Linked DNA regions of Homo sapiens: regions 1, 2, 3, 4, 5 and 7 are each linked to region 6. The links are contacts of gene promoters, found by promoter capture Hi-C in blood cells and fetal thymus (Javierre and others, 2016). All regions are on one chromosome and are shown on one strand. The core of a region is centred on a gene start or on the middle of the fragment in contact, and the rest is flanking DNA. Distances in the headings are between cores, read along the strand shown.

Evidence for each region. Contacts are between HindIII fragments. The CHiCAGO score rates a contact against its expected background, and 5 or more counts as called.
Region 1: a fragment that was not itself captured here is called in contact with the fragment with the promoter of TRAPPC8 in region 6 in 1 of 17 cell types (total B cells); the score reaches 5.1 in total B cells.
Region 2: a contact is called between the fragment with the promoter of ZNF397 here and the fragment with the promoter of TRAPPC8 in region 6, in 2 of 17 cell types (naive CD8 T cells and non-activated CD4 T cells). The highest score is 5.9, in naive CD8 T cells.
Region 3: a contact is called between the fragment with the promoter of SLC39A6 here and the fragment with the promoter of TRAPPC8 in region 6, in 2 of 17 cell types (non-activated CD4 T cells and total B cells). The highest score is 8.3, in non-activated CD4 T cells.
Region 4: a contact is called between a fragment that was not itself captured here and the fragment with the promoter of TRAPPC8 in region 6, in 1 of 17 cell types (total CD4 T cells). The highest score is 5.8, in total CD4 T cells.
Region 5: a contact is called between a fragment that was not itself captured here and the fragment with the promoter of TRAPPC8 in region 6, in 1 of 17 cell types (naive CD8 T cells). The highest score is 5.2, in naive CD8 T cells.
Region 7: a contact is called between the fragment with the promoter of ZNF24 here and the fragment with the promoter of TRAPPC8 in region 6, in 1 of 17 cell types (non-activated CD4 T cells). The highest score is 5.9, in non-activated CD4 T cells.

What each region holds. Positions count from the first base shown.
Region 1 is chr18:35,975,304-35,978,383 of GRCh38, forward strand. It overlaps RMP24 (ribonuclease MRP subunit p24), which reads left to right. Exons shown (of 5, transcript NM_031446.5): 4 at 2,107-2,297. Among named protein-coding and RNA genes, the nearest start is that of RMP24, 4.2 kb to the left of the region's middle. The HindIII fragment of the contact is 1,393 bases long and covers 768-2,160 here.
Region 2 is chr18:35,239,680-35,242,609 of GRCh38, forward strand. ZNF397 (zinc finger protein 397) reads left to right here and starts at 1,355. Exons shown (of 4, transcript NM_001135178.3): 1 at 1,355-1,430; 2 at 2,712-2,930. The coding sequence starts at 2,792. RefSeq lists enhancers at 1,037-1,146, 1,092-1,617 and a silencer at 1,407-1,536. The HindIII fragment of the contact is 1,449 bases long and covers 489-1,937 here.
Region 3 is chr18:36,127,343-36,130,589 of GRCh38, forward strand. It overlaps SLC39A6 (solute carrier family 39 member 6), which reads right to left and starts at 1,998. Exons shown (of 10, transcript NM_012319.4): 1 at 1,772-1,998. It overlaps ELP2 (elongator acetyltransferase complex subunit 2), which reads left to right and starts at 2,557. Exons shown (of 22, transcript NM_018255.4): 1 at 2,557-2,729. The coding sequence starts at 2,592. RefSeq lists enhancers at 1,796-2,301, 1,924-2,218, 2,249-2,438, 2,302-2,807, 2,599-2,808. The HindIII fragment of the contact is 4,684 bases long and covers 1,476-3,247 here.
Region 4 is chr18:36,063,947-36,066,897 of GRCh38, forward strand. The region is part of intron 1 of RPRD1A (regulation of nuclear pre-mRNA domain containing 1A); the gene reads right to left. Among named protein-coding and RNA genes, the nearest start is that of RPRD1A, 2.1 kb to the right of the region's middle. The HindIII fragment of the contact is 5,831 bases long and covers 1-2,951 here.
Region 5 is chr18:35,045,826-35,048,744 of GRCh38, forward strand. The region is part of intron 1 of MAPRE2 (microtubule associated protein RP/EB family member 2); the gene reads left to right. Among named protein-coding and RNA genes, the nearest start is that of MAPRE2, 5.9 kb to the left of the region's middle. The HindIII fragment of the contact is 4,794 bases long and covers 1-2,919 here.
Region 6 is chr18:31,941,754-31,945,015 of GRCh38, forward strand. It overlaps TRAPPC8 (trafficking protein particle complex subunit 8), which reads right to left and starts at 1,375. Exons shown (of 29, transcript NM_014939.5): 1 at 855-1,375. The coding sequence starts at 1,011. RefSeq lists enhancers at 270-1,048, 1,150-1,359 and a silencer at 980-1,099. The HindIII fragment of the contact is 12,839 bases long and covers 82-3,262 here.
Region 7 is chr18:35,342,711-35,346,002 of GRCh38, forward strand. It overlaps ZNF24 (zinc finger protein 24), which reads right to left and starts at 1,710. Exons shown (of 4, transcript NM_006965.4): 1 at 1,650-1,710. It overlaps LOC124904283 (a long non-coding RNA gene), which reads left to right and starts at 1,344. Exons shown (of 2, transcript XR_007066337.1): 1 at 1,344-2,029. RefSeq lists an enhancer at 1,028-1,087 and a silencer at 1,768-1,937. The HindIII fragment of the contact is 2,541 bases long and covers 1-2,044 here.

The sequences.
Region 1 (3,080 bases), core at 214-2,713, 4.0 Mb after region 6:
ATGGTGAGCTCTCAATTGTTTTGAGATCCCATTGTTGAGCATTATTTTTCACAAATGTGCGGATTTCTTGAACTGACCGTTATGGCTCCACCTAAATTGCAGTTACCACTACATTATTTTTTCAGTTAATGCTCCTTTGCTTCAGATAGTACTATGTTATGTATGTAGGTATCATGTCACTTCTTCAGCTGTCCTCCCACTCCATGTCAGAGTGGATTTACAGGTATGCCCAACAAAGGTGAATGCATCTTTTGTTCTTTCAACATTTTATTGAGGGTCTATCATATGCCAAGCAACATTTAATATTGGGGATATAAGATGGAATAAAACAACCAAAATCAGATTACGTACGGTTTACTATATGGAGGCCAGTAGCAAATACACTTTATATCCCTGCATATTTTATGTTAACATTTATCAACTGTTCAAGTGCCTGCTTATTGTCTATCACTGTGCCGGGCACTGGACATTATGACAGCTTATGTCTGGCCTAAGACTATAATTAGCAATTACTTGGATTGAAAATTGTCATATTTAGGAGTTTACCAGTGTTGGTCAGGTAGGTGCATTTTGCTTTGTCATAAAATTGAATGGTTAAAGGGAAAGAAAGAAGAGATAGAATATTGAAGTGAGTATGGAATTCGGTTTCTTAGTTCTTGGAGAATTGTATTTTTCAAAAATCATTACTGCCACATATTTGGAAAATGTTCTTAAATGGGAAGACAGCAAATGCTGCCTCACTATCTTGCAGTGTTTTGCCCTCATGAAGCTTACATTCTAATGTATTTTAATCAGAAGTCAGCTAGAAAGGTGCTAGAGGTATTTGTTTTTCTGATTTTTTTTTTTTTTTTTTTTTTTTTTTTTGAGACGGAGTCTCCCTCTGTCGCCCAGGCTGGAGTGTAGTGGCGTGATCTCGGTTCACTGCAAGCCCCACCTCCTGGGTTCACGCCATTCTCCTGCCTCAGCCTCCTGAGTAGCTGGGACTACAGGTGCCCACCACCACGCCCGGCTGATTTATTTTAACCTGTATACAGCCTCCTTCCAAAAAGTGTAAAGCAACATAGACCTTTGATAGATGCAGATCTTCCATTGGCATTTTCATCTGCTCATGAACATCAAACTACTTCTCACTTAAACTAGTTTGTATTAATTTGCCGAGGCATGGGCTGAGTCCTGTGCACAGTCAATTAGATATGTAGAAGAAAGGAAATTAGCTAGAAAATGGACCATTTCTTGAGAAATGAATCTTGAAAAGAAAGACAACCTCTAGAGCTAATGATGGGAGTGGAGAGGTGTGAGAGTATAACAACTCATTTGGTTGTATAAGTTACTTTAGACCTATGTTTACAAAATTGCTAAGGATTTGAAGGGGCTACTTAAATTTCCAGTGATACTGTGCCATGTTGTTTTTGGGAAGAGGCTTGAAGTTCATCTGCAAAAAAATATTAAATGCTTACTGCTGTTACAAAGAACATTCCTCCAGATGTTAAAGAGTATTATCTCCCATCTCTTCCCAAATTCCCACCAAACATGGTTTTATATTTAAAAAGTAGAGTTCATTATCTTTGAAAACCTATTTTAAATTAAATACAAATGTTTAGCCATTCATTTTTATTGAACATTTTCTCATTTAAAATTTGTCGGCTGGGCACAGTGACTCAAGCCTGTAATCCCAGCATTTTGGGAGGCCGAGGCGGGTGGATCGCCTGAGGTCAGGAGTTCAAGACCAGGCTGGCCAACATGGCGAAACCCTGCCTACTAAAAATACAGAATTAGCCAGGCACAGTGGAAGGCGCCTGGTCTCAGCTACATGGGAGGCTGAGGCAGGAGGATCACTTGAACCCAGGAGGCAGAGGTTGCAGTGAGCTGAGATCACGCCACTGCACTCCAGCCTGGGGACAGAGCAAGACTCCGTCTCAAAAAAAAAAAAATGTCTTGTCTGATTCTCGCTACTAGATTGCAAGTTCCCCAAGGACAGCCTCTATTTTACTTACCCCTATAGTATCTGGTGTAGTCCCTGACATTTAAGAATTCAATGAACCTGTGGTTTATGGGGTTAAATTATAAGATAAATGACGGGACTGATATTTCTTATTTTTATGGTAGTTGATCACTTGTAAAACATGCAACAGAACAGTGAAACATCATGGTAAAAGTAGAAGCTTTGTGTCAACATTGAAGAGCAATCCTGCCACTCCTACAAGTAAACTCAGCCTGAAGACACCAGAGAGAAGGACTGCAAACCCAAATCATGACATGTCTGGCTCGAAAGGCAAGAGCCCAGCATCGGTTTTCAGGTATCTTAATCCATGAAGTTTTTGAATTGCCAGTGTTAAGTGTTTTCTTCTAATTTCCTGTGTTTAATATATACTCCCTAAATATGCCATGCATTTCAGGACTTGGCCATTTTTCCTCCATACCCTTTTCTAATGTCACATACTCCCATATCTTCAATGCTCATTTCAATGCATTTGACTTCTAGGTATGTTACTCTACTTCCAACATCTCCTGTGCCTATTTCCAGCTGCCTGCTAAATATAACCACTTCAGTCCCCTACATGTTCAAAACTTAGTTCATCATTGCCCCACAGCTAACCACTCAAACCTGTCCATCCTCCTGAGTTCCTTATTCTGTGAATGAACACACCTTTCTGGACATTTTGACCTAAAATGACAGGTACATTCAAAAATCCCTATTCCCTTGGTCCTTGTCACCGATTTCTATATATCCTACTTCCCTGTTTTCATCTTTTTGCTCCTTTTTCTCCATAGTGCTGCTATATTCTGGTTCAGGTCCTTATGCACCATTTGTCAGGACTACTGCAGTGATTTTCCTCATGGGTCTCCCTGCTTCTAGGATCAAACTCTTTTAGTGTGATCATCTTTCTGGAGCATAGCTCTGATTAGAAGCATCACTGTGTAGCATATGGATAAATGCTCTAGCATGGCTTTCCAGCCCTATCTGGCACCAGTCTGTCTGCCTGTCTTTCTTTGCCTTAAATCATCCTATGTGCCAACAAAACTGAACCATTCACGGCCGGGCATGGTGGCTCACACCTGTAATCCCAGCACTTTGGGAG
Region 2 (2,930 bases), core at 105-2,604, 3.3 Mb after region 6:
GCTTTGTAAAATTGCTGTAGTCATTTCACAATGATAAAATTATTTAGTGAGTCACTAATAGCTTTGAATGCTAACGAACATTTTTCTCAAATATGTGTTTTAAGTCTTGGCTCACAAAGGAGAATTTGTTTCTATGTATGTATGTATCGCTTTGTTATTATCCTGTGTACTTTTTTAATATAACATTTTAAAAATATGTAACATTTAAACATGTAAAATGTAACGTTTTAAAAATAAATACAAATAAATGGGAAACGATTTGCAACAAACGAGTTGCTATCCTTAATAAGCAAAAAATTCTCACAAATAAAAAAGAAAAATCTTACTCCCTTAATTTTTTAAATGGGAAAAGCCATCTCTGAAGAACCATAAATGGTCAGTAAACATGAAGGGGGACTATCTTAAGCTCACAAAGTTGAAACATGAGGCATCATTTTTCACCGACTAAATAGCCAAAGAAAAATTTAAACAGTGAGACAATACCAGCAAGCTTCCACTGAAGAACGGGAAGACCCTAAGATAGGCTCCAGGAGTCTACGATACCAGTCTCCTTGAACTATGGGGACGTGGACGTCCCTGGTCACAAGTTGCCTGACTTTGGGCGATGTCTACGGCTGTAAATTTGGGATTATATAGCCACAGCACAGAACTGTTGTAAGGCTCCAGTGATACTCATAGGCAAAAGCAATATAAGTGACTGTTAGTTTTTGTTCAGCCTATTCATCCTTACATTTACTTTTGTCGGAAAAGAACTGGAATCACAGGAAAATCTGAGGTTTTTTTTTTTTTTTTTTTTTTGAGACAGAGTCTCGCTCTGTCGCCCAGGCTGGAGTGCAGCACATCTCAGTTCACTGCAAGCTCCGCCTCCCGGGTTCACGCCATTCTCCTGCCTCAGCCTCCCGAGTAGCTGGAACTACAGGCGCCCGCCAACATGCCCAGCTAAATTTTTGTATTTTTAGTAGAGACGGGGTTTCACCGTGTTAGCCAGGATGGTCTCTATCTCCTGACCTCGTGATCCGCCCGCCTCGGCCACCGCGCCCGGCCGAAAATCTGAATATTTTAATGGAAAACTGGGAGTGAGATTCGGGAATTACTTGAGACCAACAATGATGGGTGGTGCCAGGAGAAAGCCAGGGTGGGAACGGCCCAGGCGAGATGCGGGACCCTCCAGGTGCCGCCGCTCACAAGGACCCCTGACTCCTAGCGCACCCTCCCCTGGCCTTGGAGATTCCGCCGGGCTAGCGGCTACCGGGAGAAGGCGGTGGAAACTGTAGAGCCCGCGGCTCTGATTGGCTACCTCAGAGCAAGGGGCGGGGCGGCGGAGGACCCGAAGGGCGCGAGAGCGGAACACTGCGTACGCGCACTTCCGGTCTTTGTGGCTTGCAGCTCGGGGTGGGTGGCTCATTTCCTGGCCGCTCCTGGGCTTCGCGGTGAGGGACGTGGGCCCCTAGGAAGAGGGAGGTGGGGTTGGGAGCGCGCGCCGGACAGTGGAGGAGCTCCGCTCCTCGGCCTGCCCATCCCCAGGTCGCGGCCCTTTGGCCCGCGCGGCGTCTCCAAGCGACTGGGGAACTCAGAGGAGGCCAGCACTCAAACTCCTGCTTTCCAAAGGAAAACGCAGTTCCGCTGACCCCGTGACTTCGTAAATGCTGCGGTTTAACCAAGGATATAAAAATAGAAGGGCTAGTTAGTTAGTTAGTTAGTGCGGCCGGACTGGTTAAACCTTAAATTTGTAGGCTAAATATTTTAATTCATCTCTTAACGTTAACCGTAGTGTGAGGAATGAATTTTACTCATCTGTCCTGACAAACTAAGGGCATACATTCCTATCGATATCTCGCCATCCTAAAAGCAGGTCAAGTTTGGTCTGTGTCACAACATTTAATACCTATTTGTTACCATATTTTGCTTTTGAACATTTTTAGTCTTGGGATATTCTAAGCTTTTTCAGAACTGATACGGATCTCTTTGCTGCTTTTGTGTATGTGATACCTATCATGTTTTTGAACACATGGTAAGCATTTTACAGATACGTCTTGGTTCTTGGTCAATTCCTCTGTAGACTCGTTTATTCATAAGCAAAAATCTTAATGCTCAGTAAGTGCCTCAGTGTTTGTTGAAGTAATTCGGTAAACACCAAATGCGATCAAATGACAAATATCCAATATTTACATCAACTCATGTTTAATGTGAACTTTTAAAAAAACGTTATTACTGCCTTAAATGAAAATCAACATTACTTGCTTTAGATAGAAAGTAAGTAAAAATAAATGTTTAAAATCAGTATTACTAAATTCTGCCTAAATATTTTTACTCTTGGAAGTCTGATTCTGAAGCCTGTATTTTATTTAAAAGAGAGTTCTACAAGTTTTATTAATACATACATGTTAAAGATAGACTTTTCTCCTTGATACAATCAGAATTGAAAGAATTGGAAAGGAAATTTTCTCACTATGTGATTGATGTTAATGTTGCATTCACATTCTTAGGCTTCTAAAATAGTTTTTTCTAACATTAGTGGTAGGAATTCTTCATAATGGGAGACACTAATTGAGGTTAATGATTTTTAGTTTATCATCACATTATTGTTTTATTTAGTGATAGCCCCAAATCTACTCCCTTTCAATATATTACTAAAGTTACTCATCTTTCTTATTACAAGTACTTAGAGATTTTATTGATTGCTGTAAGTTAACTGCTTTTATATCCTTCAGGAAAGAAGAGATTACTCACACTCCTTCGCAAGCACAGAACCAGTTGTACTGAGCTTTTTGCTAAGCTGTTTCAGCCAAGAATGGCTGTGGAATCTGGAGTGATTTCAACCCTGATACCTCAGGATCCTCCGGAACAAGAACTAATACTAGTGAAAGTAGAAGATAACTTTTCCTGGGATGAGAAATTTAAGCAGAATGGGAGTACTCAATCCTGCCAAG
Region 3 (3,247 bases), core at 748-3,247, 4.2 Mb after region 6:
TTGAACGATTATTTGAATCATTGAGGCCAATGATTCATAATTAAATCTAGGCTGGGTGTGGTGGCTCATGCCTATAATCCCAGCACTTTGGGAGGCTGAGGCAGGCAGATCACCTGAGGCCAGGAGTTTGTGACCAGCCTGGGCAACATTGTGAAACCCTGTCTCAAAAAAAAAAAAGAACGAAATGAAATCTAGCTACCTTGATCATCACCATCATTTCATAAAATAACCTTCAAACACCAAAAAATAGAAATAATAATCTCAGAATTCACATATTTAAAAAATTTTAAACTAATACACTCTCCTTACATACAAGCCCATTTAAGACCCCTTTCCCCAATCACAATCCTCAAAGGTGCTCAATTTTGCCAGTGTATCCCTCAGGATATTTTCTATGCATACTCAAATACATGTATACTTAATTTTTTTTTTAAAGTTTTTTTTTTTTTTTTCTAGAGACGAGGTCTCACTATGTTGTCCGGGTTGGTCTTGAACTCCTGGCCTCAAGAGATCCTCCACCTCCAATTCCCAAAGTGCTGGGATTACAGGCGTGACCACTACGCCCAGCCTCAAATAAGTGTATACTTTAAATACACATTGAATCTTTTTTCCGACTTGACAATGAATCAGACACATTATGTCCATACATAGAATTCTTAAAGTAAACTGAACTTCATGAAAAACTCACTGTAGCATCCTTGTGTTACTACAAACCAGTCAACATTTAATCACAGGCTGTTAATCATCCACAGTAGTGTTTGGAACCAAAGGCCTGTGCCCCAAAGAGGAGGAAGCAATTGAGTTGGAGCTTGAAAAGCAGAATTCAGTTAAGCAGAGCCAGAATTCAGTTAATTCAGATCCAGCAGGATGTCCAGCACCAACGGTGGAGGTGATGGTGGTCAAACTCACATCTCCAGCAAAAGACGCAGACGTCAAGTTTACAACTAAGCAAGAGCATGGGGCTATCCAGCTCTACCACGGTCAGCTGTTCTTTGGACAGGGCTCTCGCATTCATTACCTTATCTAAAATACCGGTAAAACCTATTTTGCAAGGCGAAGGAGGAAAACACATGAAGGAATGTATATTACAAGTACTCGTTAAACTCATGTGTTGCACAAGTGCGAGGTATCATACAGGGAACAGTGGGAAATGGAGGTACGGCGTAGAACGAGGCTCCTGAAAGAGGAATCTTTGGGGCTTGAAGTTTCGGGAATTCTTTTACTAGGTAAAAGATAAACATTTAGAAATCATTCCCAGGAGAGAGGCGAGGAGCGGGGTGGGAGGGGACTAGCACAGGGGACAGCTCCGAGCCTTTCTCCAGGGAGGATGCTGAGCGCGGTCGTGGACCCGTTGAAGGATCTCCTTTCCTGCAAGTTGGTGTGTGCTGGAGGAAAAAGGAAAGCAGAAGGGAAGGGCCTTAGAGAAAAAGGCGAGTACAGAAAACGGAAAAGAGGGCACAAAGCTCTCTTCTAAAAGCTTTTTATTTCTAAACACGTCAGTCCCTTCTTCGAATATGGGATGAAAAGTACGGATCTTTTCCTCAAAAAATCCTCCGTTGCACCCCGAAGCCCATCTGAGCACCTTAAGAAGTCCGGCTCTCTAGGGTGAGTGGGCGCCTGCGGCGGGCTCCCCCCAGCATCCTCTTTCTGTAGCCCCCCTGCCCGGTCCGCAGGATCCGGTTCTCCGCAGAACCACCCCTACCCCGCCACGCCTGTCTGGCCTGAGGAGCTCCCCTCCCAGCCGCCCTGCTCCCGGACCTGAAAGACTCACGTCTCCGCGGCCTCGTTGTCCCACGGCCCGGCCACGCGCGCAGGTTTGGTTCCACACGGGCGGTCCAGAGGGCTCGGAACGGGCCCACTGGTGTCTTCGAGAAATCTCTACCAGGCGCGAACACGCGGTGGTTTCATTGGGTTGGCTGCCCCTCGGTCCGGGGGCAGCGCCGCGCAGCCACCCGGCAGCCGCGCCCCTAGCCTTCGCGAAGCTGGAAGACAATCACTAATTACCGCCGCGCGCAGCGCCGCGGGGAACCACCGCCCCCTTCGCCCAGGACTGCAGGGCATGCGCAGTGCGACCCCGGAACCCGGCTCCGCAGACGGATCCGCTTTTCCGTGTGTTCGCCGACGCCGCGGGGGCGTGGCGCGGCCCTAGCGCATTGTAAGCAGTTGGGGGTCATTTCCTCGAGGCCCTACTCGCTAGCCAGCGCCCCCGGGGCCAGCCCTGGCTGCTGCTGGGAGCCGGGTCGTAAGGGGCAGCGAGATGTTTCTGACGCTGCCCCAGGCACATGAGCCCCGGGTCCTTCGGGAGGGTCCCGAGCCACTCGGGTCGGATTTCGCTCTTGAGACAAAGGCCTGGCTCGTTCGCGGAGCGGGGCCACGGTCCAAGAGCAGAGCTAGCAAAGCGGCGGCCTTGCACAGGGGTTCCAGCCTGCGGTGGGAACGGAGAGTCTCAGGGGGGCGGGGCTGCCTCCGTCTGGCCCTCGGCTGGCTGCGAAACGTGGACTGGGTGATGCCTCAGGAGAAACCACCCTAGTAGTTCCGCTCCGAGGGCGGAAGTGCGCGTCTCTTGTTTGTGCGGCTGACCAGTTGGCGACATGGTGGCACCCGTGCTGGAGACTTCTCACGTGTTTTGCTGCCCAAACCGGGTGCGGGGAGTCCTGAACTGGAGCTCTGGGCCCAGAGGACTTCTGGCCTTTGGCACGTCCTGCTCCGTGGTGCTCTATGACCCCCTGGTAAGAGAGGTCGCTGGACGGCCGACCCTTGTGCTTTTCGGGTTGAACCTGTGGACGTGCTCCGGGCGCGCTGTTAGTTGCCGCCCCAGACCTAGGAGGCGAGTCGGGTCGGCTCAGGGGAGCGGGGTTTGGGCTCGGAGTCTCCAGTGGACCTGCCGGACTCGCTCCTCACCCCTCACCCTTTGCCGTCTCACGCGTGGCGTCATCCTAGGGTCATTGCTGCCCATGAGCTGCTAGTAACCTGTTAGTCCCACGCAGAAACCCGAATGATAAGCATCTTACCTGAAGCCTTCCTTGGGAACTGTAGTACCGTTAATCAATTTGGGTTTTAAAACAATTGAAATTTATATGTAGATTAAAACCATCATCCCACAGGTGCAATCTCATTTCAGTATTTCCTTCAGTTTTGGTTAATGAACTTTTGTTGTATTGAATTTCAAGGAAATGTTACCTGTGTTTTAGCTACGGGAATGGACATTTTAGAGAAAGTGTCAGTTTGGGGGAAAGGTCATAGGGGA
Region 4 (2,951 bases), core at 193-2,692, 4.1 Mb after region 6:
CGTTTTCCACTTATGAAACACTTAAACATATGGAAACATCACAAACCTTGCTAAAAGCACATCTTACAATTTTACCACATTTGCACCATTTTCTTAAATACATTAAATATTAGATAGCTTTCTCCTATTGAGAGGTGACAACGTCCTAGCAGCCCTTGCTCGCTCTCGGCGCCTCCTCGGCCTCGGCGTCTGCTCTGGCCGTGCTCAAGGAGCCCTTCAGCCCGCTGCTGCACTGTGGGAGCCCCTCTCTGCGGCTGGCAGAGGCCGGAGCCGGCTCCATCTGCTCTCAGGGAGGTGTAGAGAGAGAGGCGCCGGCAGGAGCCTGGGCTACGCGCGGTTCCGGGTGGGTGCCTGCTGGGCTTGATGGGGGACGAGCTCCCTCTGGGCTGCTAGAGTGCCCAAGCTAGGTGCCGCAAAGTCCCGCGGCGAGTGCCATTGAGAGGTGAAGCCAGCTGGGCTTCTGGGTCAGGTGGGGACTTGGAAAACTTTTCTGTCTAGCTAAAGGATTGTAAACGCACCAATCACCACTCTGTGTCTAGCTCAAGGTTTGTAAACGCACCAATCAGTGCTCTGTGCCTAGCTAGAGGTTTGTAAACACACCAATCAGCACTCTGTGTCTAGCTAAAAGTTTGTAAATGCAACAATCAGTGCTGTGTGTCTCGCTAAAGGATCATAAAACGCACCAATCAGCACTCTGTCAAAACGGACCAATCAGCTCTCTGTAAAATGGACCAATCAGCAGGACGTGGCTGGGGCCAGATAAGAGAATAAAAGCAGGCCACCCAAACCAGCAGCAACAACCCGCTTGCGTCCACTTCCCTGCTGTTGAAGATTTGTTCTTTCACTCTTCACAATAAATCTTGCTGCTGCTCACTCTTTGGGTCCCTGCCGCCTTTATGAGCTGTAACACTCACCGCGAAGGTCTGCAGCTTCACTCCTGAAGCCAGCGAGACCACGAATCCACCGAGAGGGACCAACAACTCCGGATGGAAGGAACAACTCCAGACGCACTGCCTTTAAGAGCTGTAACACTCACAGTGAAGGTCTGCAGCTTCACTCCTGAAGCCAGCGAGACCACAAACCCATCAGAAGAAAGAAACTCCAGACATGTCTGAACATCAGAATGAACAAACTCCGGACACACCATCTTTAAGAACTATAACACCGCGAGGGTCCACAGCTTCATTCTTGAAGTCAGCGAGACCAAGAACCCACCAATTCTGGACACACTATGACAACCACTATCTTGGAATATGGTGTTAATCACTACTATGCATATTTTAATATAGGTATCTATAAACAAAAGAAGTACTGTTTTGCATGTTTTTAGACTTTACCCCCATAGCATTATTCGTCTGTACCTTGTTTTCTTAGCTCAAGATTTTGTTTGTTTTTCAATTCAGTCACGTTGTTTCATGCAGCTCTAGTCCATTCGTGAGAACTTTTCGATAGTATTACATTTTATTAATATCACAATTTATTTGTCCATTCTCAAACTAATGGAATGGTTTTTTTGTTTTCTTATTTTTTGTAAAGAAAAGGTTTCACTATGTTGCACAGGCAGGGTCTCACTTGTTTTCAATTTTGTTATTATGAAGCTGCAATAAACAATTCTTGAGAACAATACTTATTTCTAGAATATATTCCTAGAAAGAAAACTGCTAGGTCAAAGGATATATTTAATATATACCTCCAACTTCATCAACTAAGTTGATCTACAAAATAGTTACATATTTTTACATTCCCACCAAGTGGTATAAGAGTTCCTGTTTCTCTGCAACAATTATCCATATTGTCATATTATTTTGCCAAATTGATGAACATAAAGTGGTACCTCACTGGCTTACTTTTTCCTGATTTGTAAGATTAAGTATCATTTATTGACCTTTCAGGTTTCCTCACGTGAAATGCCTATAAACAGTACTGCCATTTTTTTTTTTTACTGATTTGTAATAGTTATTAAGAGAGTCTGGGTATCAACCCTATACTGATTACATGTGTTTCTAAATGCTCTCTGCAAAAACAAAAAACAAGATAAACCTGTTACCGATTCTGAAATCTAGTAAAATGTAAAAGCAAAGCTAATTCCTGACTTTTCAAAGTTCACAGCTACTTTCCAGACCTTTATATCAGTGTTTCTGAAACCTTTCCGTCCACTCACAGAAGATGAATTCCTCATTCAGGGCCAATACACACATACTTACACATAAACTGAAAAACAAGGCTGTAAATCAATTTCTTCTCAAGGATGGGTGACGTTTTCATAACCACAAACAATATACAAGGACAGATTGTCTCCATTATATACAGCCAACATTTTGGCTCACATTTTGGCTGTTACGTACATACATCATATAGCTTTCACAAGGTTCAGTAAGCAAGCGTCTATTTTGATTAATAACGGTTAAAACCTTTAACACTTGATAAAAAACCATCATATCCATCAGGATGTTTGCAACAATAATGAAGAGTGTCCACTCTACCCAATGAATTAAGAATTAAAGTACAAGCTCAGACTAAGCAAATGAAATTTTTTATTTTCAGTCGCACTAGGATAATTTTTTACAAAGTTGCTCTGCATACATGAACTGATTCTGAATATTTTAGTGACAGACATCTCAAAAAAGTTTACTTCATTTACAGGAACACTATCAAATGTTTTGCAAAACAAAGACACTGCATTAGGGCATATAATCATAGAATAGGAAAGGACTTTAGGTGACTTACTCTAAATCTCTCCTTTTCAGGTAAGGCATCTGCAACGCAGAAGTTATAAGAAACTTGCCCAATTGAGACCCTCTAAAATCTACAAATTCAGAGTCTTTTCCACTGCATTACCCATCTTCTTATATTAGACTTCTAAAACTATTCCTCTATTAATTTCACAAGAATAAGTTGCTGCGTTACAGAAATGACGGAAGTAACTCCCAAACCCACACCAATCTTTTTCT
Region 5 (2,919 bases), core at 317-2,816, 3.1 Mb after region 6:
AAGATTTTTGTCCTTACTATTTTTCTTAGTGTTTGTAAAAATCAGAAGATTACTTGATGCTTTAGTACATGCCCAACTCTGGAACTTCTTTTACGGATTTTCAGAGCTTCTGTTAATGGAATGGTCTTCCGGGTGCTCTTGCTTTGGGGAGAGGCTCACTCCTGCTCTGTAGCTGGTATCTGTTGACAGTGCATTATCTTAGAGCAGTGCTGTGAGATTGTCCTCTGGAATTCAGAAGGTTGATTTCCTTATGCAGCATCTTTTCTTTATTTACAGGGACCTCTTGAAGCTGCAGTGAATAATTCTAGATTAATTGGAAGGGGAAATTTGGGACTAATTTAAATATTCTGTTTGGTTTAGAGAATTAATTAATTTTACAAATATTTGAAAGTCTGCTCTGGCCAAGGTCTGTGCTAGATGCCCCTTGAAGGATCTTGAGTCCTAGTAAAGTCCGATGGAAAACCGCTCATTTTGTAAAAGACTTACAGTGTTGGTATTTTGCTTAGTCTGATAGCGAAAGTGGTTTGCATTTCCTGAACCCCCAGTGACCCAAAGGGGGAAAAAAAGTTTCTCTGAAGTCCAGTGTGCTGTAGGAAGCTAAAAGACACTGAGAGAAACCAGAAATTTTGCTGAAAAGAATGTAGGCTTTAGGATCAGGCAGAATTTTCACTGGCCTGGCCAGGTGTGTTGGGCAGTGGTAGAAAATAAAAGCATTGAAAAGCAGGCGGGGTAGTTGGAACTTGGAAATAAGAAGCTACTGAAAGTTTATTGACTGAAGATAGTGTAATGAAAACAGATGCCTACTGCAGTGGATCTTCAGTTTTGAAATGAGAGCTAAAAGGAAAACGGGATCCCAATGCACCACTGTGTGGGTCTAGAATCACTAGAAAATACTTAATGCCATGCGAGAGCTTGAGCCCTCTAATGTGCAGAGATCAGGACTAGGTAGATGTTCTCTGGCTCAGGATGTCTTTCCTTGAGTAGAAGCAATGAATGCAGCTTTGTTCCATAATGAGACTGGTACTTAGCCCAGACAGTGGCTTTTATATTTGCAGATGCCCACTTCATAGCTATCAGTCTAACTTTTAGGAGTGGCAAGTGTGGAGAGCTGCCACTATTCTGATCTTCCCAAACAATGAACCAGGTTTCTGGTTCATTATGAAGCATCTTCCCTTGGCATTTAATGATGTAAAAAGTTCCGATGTGGCTGATGAAACTGCTCAGGACACTCCCTGTGACTTTGGGGCCAATTCCTCTGACAGTTAGAAGGTTATCACCTTGGTGGCAGACTCCAGAGTGGATGGAGTTTACCCTAAATAGTGTGTGTGTGTTTACTTCTTATTTTAGTCAATTTCACTTTAAAGGACAAATTGATTTTCTTCTCTCCTGTGAGAAGTATCTTTTTTCTACAGTGAATTAAGTTAGAATATATATCTAAGAACAGTTTTATTCTTCCTGACTTCAGGCCATCTTTCAGCTAGCTGCCTCTGTAATACTACATTGAGTATGTCAAACTTAGCCAATATCTGAAGCACTATTCCAACAGCCCTTTTTCTTTCTAACACTCCACACACATCCCATTGGTATCATACAAACCTTGTTTCTTAGCTCATTTTAAAATTCCGATTGTTTATCTTAGTGTTTCTGGCCCTTGGTCTTTATTATTAGATTGAGAGAATTCTCTCAAAGTGGAAACCTACAATTCACATAGGCAAGAAATTATGCAACATTTACCTTATAGCATAAATCAAAGAAATTTCTCCTAAATATGTTTTTATAAAATGCCTCCCCAAAGATGATCATTTACTTTAATGAAAATAAATCATTAGCAAGGTAAAGACTGAACAGAGTTTTATAGGCCACCAATAAATAATTTCTTAGTAGGTTACTTAAAAAAAAAAAAAAAACACTGTGTTTTCAGTGTCAAATCTCCCCAAGTGAATTAAGATTTTACTCACTTGAACCAGGACAGAGTTTCTTAAAGAATTACTGTCTTTTCTAAGGGAGCAGAAGTTTGTGATAAATACATGAAATGATCAAGTTGACAGCTTTGAGTGATGGTGTCCTCTAATGCTTATCTAGTTAAGAAAATATGGCAAAAACTCAAACTTTCTGTGATTTCTAGGCCTCTCTTTGTTCCAGCAGGTAAAATGACCATGCTGGAAGAATCTGATTTTAGCAATGACTTTGGAACAGAAAGACAACATGGCAAGAGGTTTAATTGGCTTACAGTTCTGCAGGCTGTATAGGAAGCTGGCACCAGCATCTGCTCAGCTTCTGGGGAGGCCTCAGGGAGCTTTCACTCATGGTGGAAGGCGAAGCGGGAGCAGGCATGTCTCATGGCCAGAGCAGAAGCAAGAGAGAGGGAGTGGAGGGGGAGGTGCCACACACTTTTAGGCAACCAGCTCATGTGAGAAGTCACTCAGTGTCATGAGGACAGCATCGAGCTATGAGGGACCCGACCCCATGACCCAAACACCTCCTACCAGGCCCCACCTCCAACACTGGGGATTTTAATTCAACACAAGATTTAGAGGGGACAACATCCAAACTATATCATATATTTATATAGTATTAACACATATACTATATATGTGTGTGTGTGTGTATTTATACATATGTACACTATAGAAAGTATATATACACATACATATATACTTTTAGAAAGTATAATTATATATGTGTTACATATAGTATTAACACATATACTACATATACTATATTCACACATATATAGTAGTAACATATATGTATTATATATGTGTGTATGTATACTATATACACATAGTATTTATAGTATTAACACATATACTATATGTGTATATGTGTTTATAGTATATGTATTAATACTATACGTACACTATACTATATATACTATTATATATAGTGTATATATAGTATATGTGTTAATACTATAAC
Region 6 (3,262 bases), core at 125-2,624:
CCTTCAGTTCTTACCGACCTTAACAAAAAAAACTTTACTTGGACTTTGTTGTTTGCAAGATATTGGCTAAAACATGCTTGAAGCTTTACCACATTATTTTCTCCTAATAAAAAAATCCAAAACTGGAGAAAACGGGTAGCTTCTTAACAAGACATTCATTAACAAGAGAAGACATTTCCATCCCTATAACTATAGATAACTCCAAATATCCAGGTTAAATTAACCACAACTTGGGCTTGCTTCCTCTTCCTTAGGGCAAAAAGCTGCTTCAAGTTTTATTCTTCTTATAATACTTTTAATTTTCTTGAGAGGTTAAGCAAAATACCGTATAGCTAAGAATATATTAGTAAAACAGCTACACGGTAGTTCAGACAGAGATGACCCTCAACGCTACAAGAATGTAATAACATCCACAACTACTTTCAAAGTCCAGTTTAACATCCAAGGGAGGATGACAGGTCTTCCTTACTCAGACCCTGTCGGTCTAAGAGGCAGCATTTTCCTACCTTAGCTGCTTTGCAAGTGCCTAATTCCTTCGCTATGGCCGTGGAGAACAGTCTCAATGCCGTTCTCGAAGACTCACGTTTATCTTTGCACCAATTACTTAACGACCTAGGTTGTCCGAGGAAGAAAGGAAGTGCCCAGAGAAACTGGAGCTTAGGACTGCGCTGTCTTGACAACCTCACGGTCCCTCCTCCAGCCGCCCCCGGAGCACCGCGGGGCCACAGCCCCAGACGCCACGGTACCGGCTCCAGGACGTAAACACTGCCCTTCTCTTCCCTGCCCGCCCGCAACTTCCTTCTCCCGACCACGGCTTTGCGGGAGCCCACTGGAAAAGGGAGGATACCACATACCCTCGGAAGTGAGGCGGGAGAAGGGCTTAAGCAGCTCCGCGAAGCTGAGGTGATTGAGACGAGTGAGCCGCTCGGCTTCGTCGCTGCACAGCGCAGCGACACAGGGGACGAAGGAGTCCGGGATTAGCTCCTGCACTGATTGTACACACTGGGCCATCGCCGCAGCACAGGCAGCGGCGGCGCCCGCCCTCCGGCCCACCCTGCGAGGTTATCCTGCGGCTGCAGCAGCTACCGCCGCCGCCCGCCGGCCTGGCCCGGCCGGGCGGGGCCCCGAACGCACTGGAGCCTAGAAACAAGAAGGAACAGACGCCGCCGCTTCGGTTTCTGGGGCACAATCCACTGACCCCCCCCTTCCCGTCACCGCCGCTTCTCAGCGCTCGTCCCCGCGTGCTCGCATTCCACCCCGATAGGTGGAGACGCCGACAGTCACCACTTAGTCCTTCGGACGGCAAAACCTTGGTCACTGCCCGGCCGGAACCGCCATGTTGAGGCCGAACCCTGACCAACCGGCAGTACTACTCCCAGCTGCCCCCGCGCGCGTCCCTCACGTGACTGTGTTAAAGGAGACGGTAGGGGCAAGGGAAGAGAGCTGAGGAGAGGGAAGTGAAAAACGACGGAGGCCGGTTGGGAGGCTGGAGCCGGAAGTGTTGTGACGGAAGCTCCCTGGGCGGGGCGGGGCTACAAGTGCGGTGGGCGGGGGCGGGGGCGGGGGCGGGGGCGGGGGGAGGTGCACAACTGTAGGCCGGGTTCTCAAGCTCGCCCTTAGCAGAGCAGAGCTGAGAGCCACCTACTAGCGGCAGGTGGAGCCTCGAGACGGGTGCTGTCGTGGTGATGGAGGCGCACGCTCGCTTCCCACGCAGTTTGGCCTTTTTGACGTCCCTGGCTGTTGTGGGCAACCGATTTGGTTGGTCGCGCTGCTTCCTACGCTCGCCGGCGGAGCAGCTAGTGGCACCTGCTCGGAGAGAGGGAGTGGATCTCTCGGAAGTGCTTGGGGTTTCGCTGAAGCGGACCTGAACAGACCATGTGTCCTTTAAATACAGCCATGCTTTTAGAAACGGACTGTCACTTTATGTGGACTCAACCATTGAACAGAATGTGTGCTTTTGTGAGTGCTGCAATTCCTTCAAGTGTAATTGCGCTACTGCATTTTTGTTGGTCGCAGGGAAGGGGTGTGCCTGCAAATGTCCGCGTGGTTCGTCCTCAGCCTCTTCCTTTTTACACTGTGCTAGGATGTTTACTTGCTTGTGGTGGAGGTAGGGGAAGCCAGTATTTGTGTACTGTGTACTGTCCTGAACCGGCTTTCATTCCTAACTTTTCAAAGATTGCTTTAAAGGGGGGGGGGCGCGGGTCAAATATTGTTTTAAAGGGGGGGACGGGGTGAGGTCAATGGTGTGTGCCTTGTAAGTAGAAATGAATGAAAGGAATTTTACTAATGTGTCACTCAATTGTTTGAGCTCCTTCTGTTTTGCATGCCAAAAATATAAGGCAAGGAAAAATGTATCATTCTATCATGATTTTATGGTGCTCTAATTAAAGGTGTCTTCCCCAACGTCAATGTCTCAAATTTTTCGACTTCTTGACACCCTCAGGTTTTCACTAAGGTAATAATTTATGACAAGTAAGATGTGTGCTTCTCATGTAAGTTGATAAATGGGAGGTAGGAAGGCACAGTAGGACATATTGATGACATGCCTTGGCTACAGATTAATTTATAAGAGAGTCCATCACTTTAGGAGATTTATTTGCCGAAGTTAAGTACGAGCCCAGGAAACAGGTCTATGCCTTTCTTCGAAGATGATTTTGAGTGCTCCAAATTTAAAGGGGAAAGGGCGGGATATTGAGAAGCACACCGTTTTCATGTAAGGGGGCGGTAGGAGAAAATAGTAATTCTTGCCTTTCTCTGGCTCAGTGAATCTGCATTTTTTACATAAGATGACATAAAATGGGCAGAGGAAGAATGTGGGAGTCTGCATTTTTCATAAGATAACAGACAAAATGGGGTAGGGGAACAATCAGATAGGCATTTGTGTCTGGCGGGCTGGGGTGGCCACCTGTAAAGATAAGCTATCAATTTGCATTGCCATGAAGTTTTAACAGCACACTAAGAATTTCCTTGTGGGCAAAATACGGGGGAGAGATGTAGCTTTTCATCTTGCAGCAATCTTATTTAGGAACCAAAAGGGGGAGGCAGATTTGCGTGACCAGTCCCAGCGTGACTTTTCCCTTTGGCTAAATCAGTTTGGGGTCCCAAAATTTAATTTCCTTTTGCAAGAGATAACATGTTACACACAATCCCTTTTCAATGCTTCTGATTCACTTCCTTACCCTTTATAATGTGAGAATCTCACATAATTTAGTGTGACTCAAGTTATAAGATACATTTTTTATAACAGGACTCCCAAATGCAA
Region 7 (3,292 bases), core at 460-2,959, 3.4 Mb after region 6:
TAGTAGGCTACGCCATTTAGGTTTGTGCAAGTACATTCTATGACGTTCACACAAGGATGAAATAGCCTAACATATTTCTCAGACCATAGCACTATCGTTGAGTTATGCATGACCTTATTTACTATATGGCCGCTTACAGAAAAAGTTTGCCAATCATGACCTACTAAGACGACAAACCCTATGTCAATAATCAAAAGAATCCAAGTAAGAACCAGACTACTTCAGTGCTTTCTAAATGTGCCTGACCCTGGAACGCATTATTTCCAATTCAGGATTGGTGTTTCCTGACACACACAAGTCAACTCAAAAGGAAGGTTCGCTTTATTATTATGTGCTTAAAAAAATTTTCTTTACCATTTAAAAAATATTTTTAAGGTGTTTAAGAACTCCTTGGACTTATATGTGAAAAAATGTTCACTTGCTGAGTAGCAGATCACATAATATTGAAAAGATCATATGTGAAAAACATCACATAATTTTGAAAAATTATCTTGCACATAATACGTAAATATTCAGTCTTCCACCACACCATACGTACATTTATATTTATAATGATAGGCATTAATCACAGAAACTTCTATTAAGAAAAGGCACTCGCATAAGCACCTTGACTTCCTGCAGTGGTCCAGTGTCTTGTCCTTACACTGGAGGACTCACAGTTTCCCCAGCTTCTACCTTCAGTGAAACTGTATACTGCTTCTGGACCTTTATTATTTGCACGATCATGCCCGTGCTGTTGTTTACGACACATACTAGCAATGAGCCATTCAGCCTATTTATTTATTCAGGGCCCAAAATCTGAACAATAACAACTTAAAAAAACTTATTGTAACCCAAGCAAGATGAAGACTAGAATCAGAAAAGGCCTTATCAGACAAGTAATACATACTGGTTTAATTAAATACCCTGGAGTGTGGTGGCCTTATACATAAGGTCTAGCCAACATTCATTCGTTCCTATTCCAAGACCCTGCTTATCAACGGTGCAAGTATTTCTACATAATTTTCTCTTCCTTTTATGCTGTAGAGCATACCGCTTGTGGGAAATGGAGGGAAGGCCCACGGTCCCGACAATGTTTGGGCAGGGTACCTCGTCCCAGGTGGATCGCCCACCTTACTGCTGCATAGACCTGCTGTGTATCCCGGCCCCGGCCCCGGCCCCGGCCCGACGTCCTCTAGCCCCTCTTCCCAGCACTCAGGACCGCGGATTTCAGATGACCAAAGGCCACCCTGTGACAACAGCGTCGGAACCACGGCACTTCCGCCTGCGGCCGGTGAGACTACAAATCCCAGAAGCCCCGCGCAAGTCTCGTCCCACTACCACCCCCTCCCATCACGACTCCCAGAACCCTCCGCGAGACGCCAGGGCCTCGAAATAGAACAAAACCGGCCGGTGGGGGAGGGGGAAGGTGAGGGTCTCGGAGGACACAGGGGGTTAGAGAGCTCTCTGCAAATGCCGAAGACCCAAGCAGGCCTGCCGCCTACCCCTCCCCGCCCCACAACTGCTAGGCGCGGAGACCGCGGCCTGTTCCCCGCGCCTCCCGGGAAGCTGAGGAAGGTCCCGGACAGGCTTCCCCGCCGGCTCCTGCTAAGAGGTCCGCAGACCCTAGCCCGGTGTCCCCCCTCCCTCTCATAACGTTCCCCGCACACCGGCGCAAACCTCCGGCTCAGGAACCGCAGCAGCTTCGCTGTCCACGGCAGACGCAGAAACGCCGTTCACAAGCCTTTTCCCAGAAGCCCCCGGCGCGGGCTGCTTCCGGTCTGCGGGCCTGAGGAGGCGGGGAGAGGTAAAGCCCACGTTGCCATGGAGAAGCGCCCCGGGCGGGGGAGGGGCGGCCCCACGACAATGACCGCATTGAGGCTGCGCTTGGCCTCGCGCCTCTCCTCGAACAGCCCAGCGTCCTCTGGACCGTTTAAAAGAAAACATAAAGAGGACTCTACCATTAAGATAGTCCTTACAATTTCGCAAGCCCTTTCACGTGCATTATCTTGTGGATCCTCTCAGTAATCCCCTGCAAGAAGGAATGAAAGTGAGTGTTTGTGAAAGCTTACTACATTGTGCCAGGCGCTCTCGTCGTGCTTTACATGTCATTTTTTTTTCCACAAATAAATGATGTAGGAACTTTCATTATCCCCATTTCACAGCTGAGATAGTTGAGGCACAAATACAGTAAATAACCTGACAAGAGCTCACAACTCATTTGTGGGTAGCAAGATTTGAAACCAAGACGTGATTCAAATCTTTGGCTCCCACTAGTTATGTCATGGAGCTTTATTCCGACCTATTTATCTGTCAGGAAAACTAGATAAGACAGGTTAAGAGTTTTGGCAGTGATGTCACGGTGAATTTGTAGAATGCATGGTCATCTTAAAGCTGGGCATTTTATACCATAAAACAACTGCTGACGCGATCATTTAAAATTACAAATCAGACCACTTCACTCCCCTATTTAAAGCCCTCCAATTTATGTCATAATAATTTATGACATAAAAACTCCTTATAATGGCCTGTAAGTCCCCTGTGGTCTGTTGCCTGCCCGCACCCCCAGACCCTGGCGCCCCCAGTCACCTCAGCTCCTCGGCTCATTGTGGCCCAAGATCCTCAGCCTCACCACCTGCCTTTCATGGCGCATGACCCTTCATGGCACTGTTATTAATGGAAGTGATCTCATTTATTTACTTGTTTTATTTTTTGTTTTGTTTTGTCTTTAAGTCCCTTAAGGGCAGGGACCTTGTCTGTCTTGCTCACCACAGTATCCCATCCTAGATCCTGGAAGCTGACTGCCTGGTAAATAGAGAACTCAATAAATATTTGTTGAATAAATAAATGAATTGTGGGATGGTTACATTGCTGCCTTTAGCTAGGTCACATGATTGGCATCAGACACCACACAAAGGAGCCCTGTTGTTTAAGGACTGGTCAAAAGTGTAGATCCAGCCTAACATAAGCATTTCAAGATCCTCAGGCTTTGACTTTTTGCCTCATTGGAGAAAATGCCCTCTGAAAAGTGCCGTCAGGCTCCGCTGGATTCGTGCATGAGAGAGCAAGTGAGCGAGCAGCTGATGGTATACCACTGCTTTTCATTCCGACCAGAGCTCTTCTCACAACCCCTGCTAACACTTCTCTCCATTGCAGGAAGCTTCAGAAGTACAGCCTTTTCACTCTGCTACTTGGATACGGCCCCTAAGCAACTTGGCTGCTCTTCCCAACCTTTCCCTCTTATCTGATTTGTAAAGGCTAGCTGAAGGCATTTTTGTTTTAAGAGTTTTTACATCTAATTAATGTTGGAAAA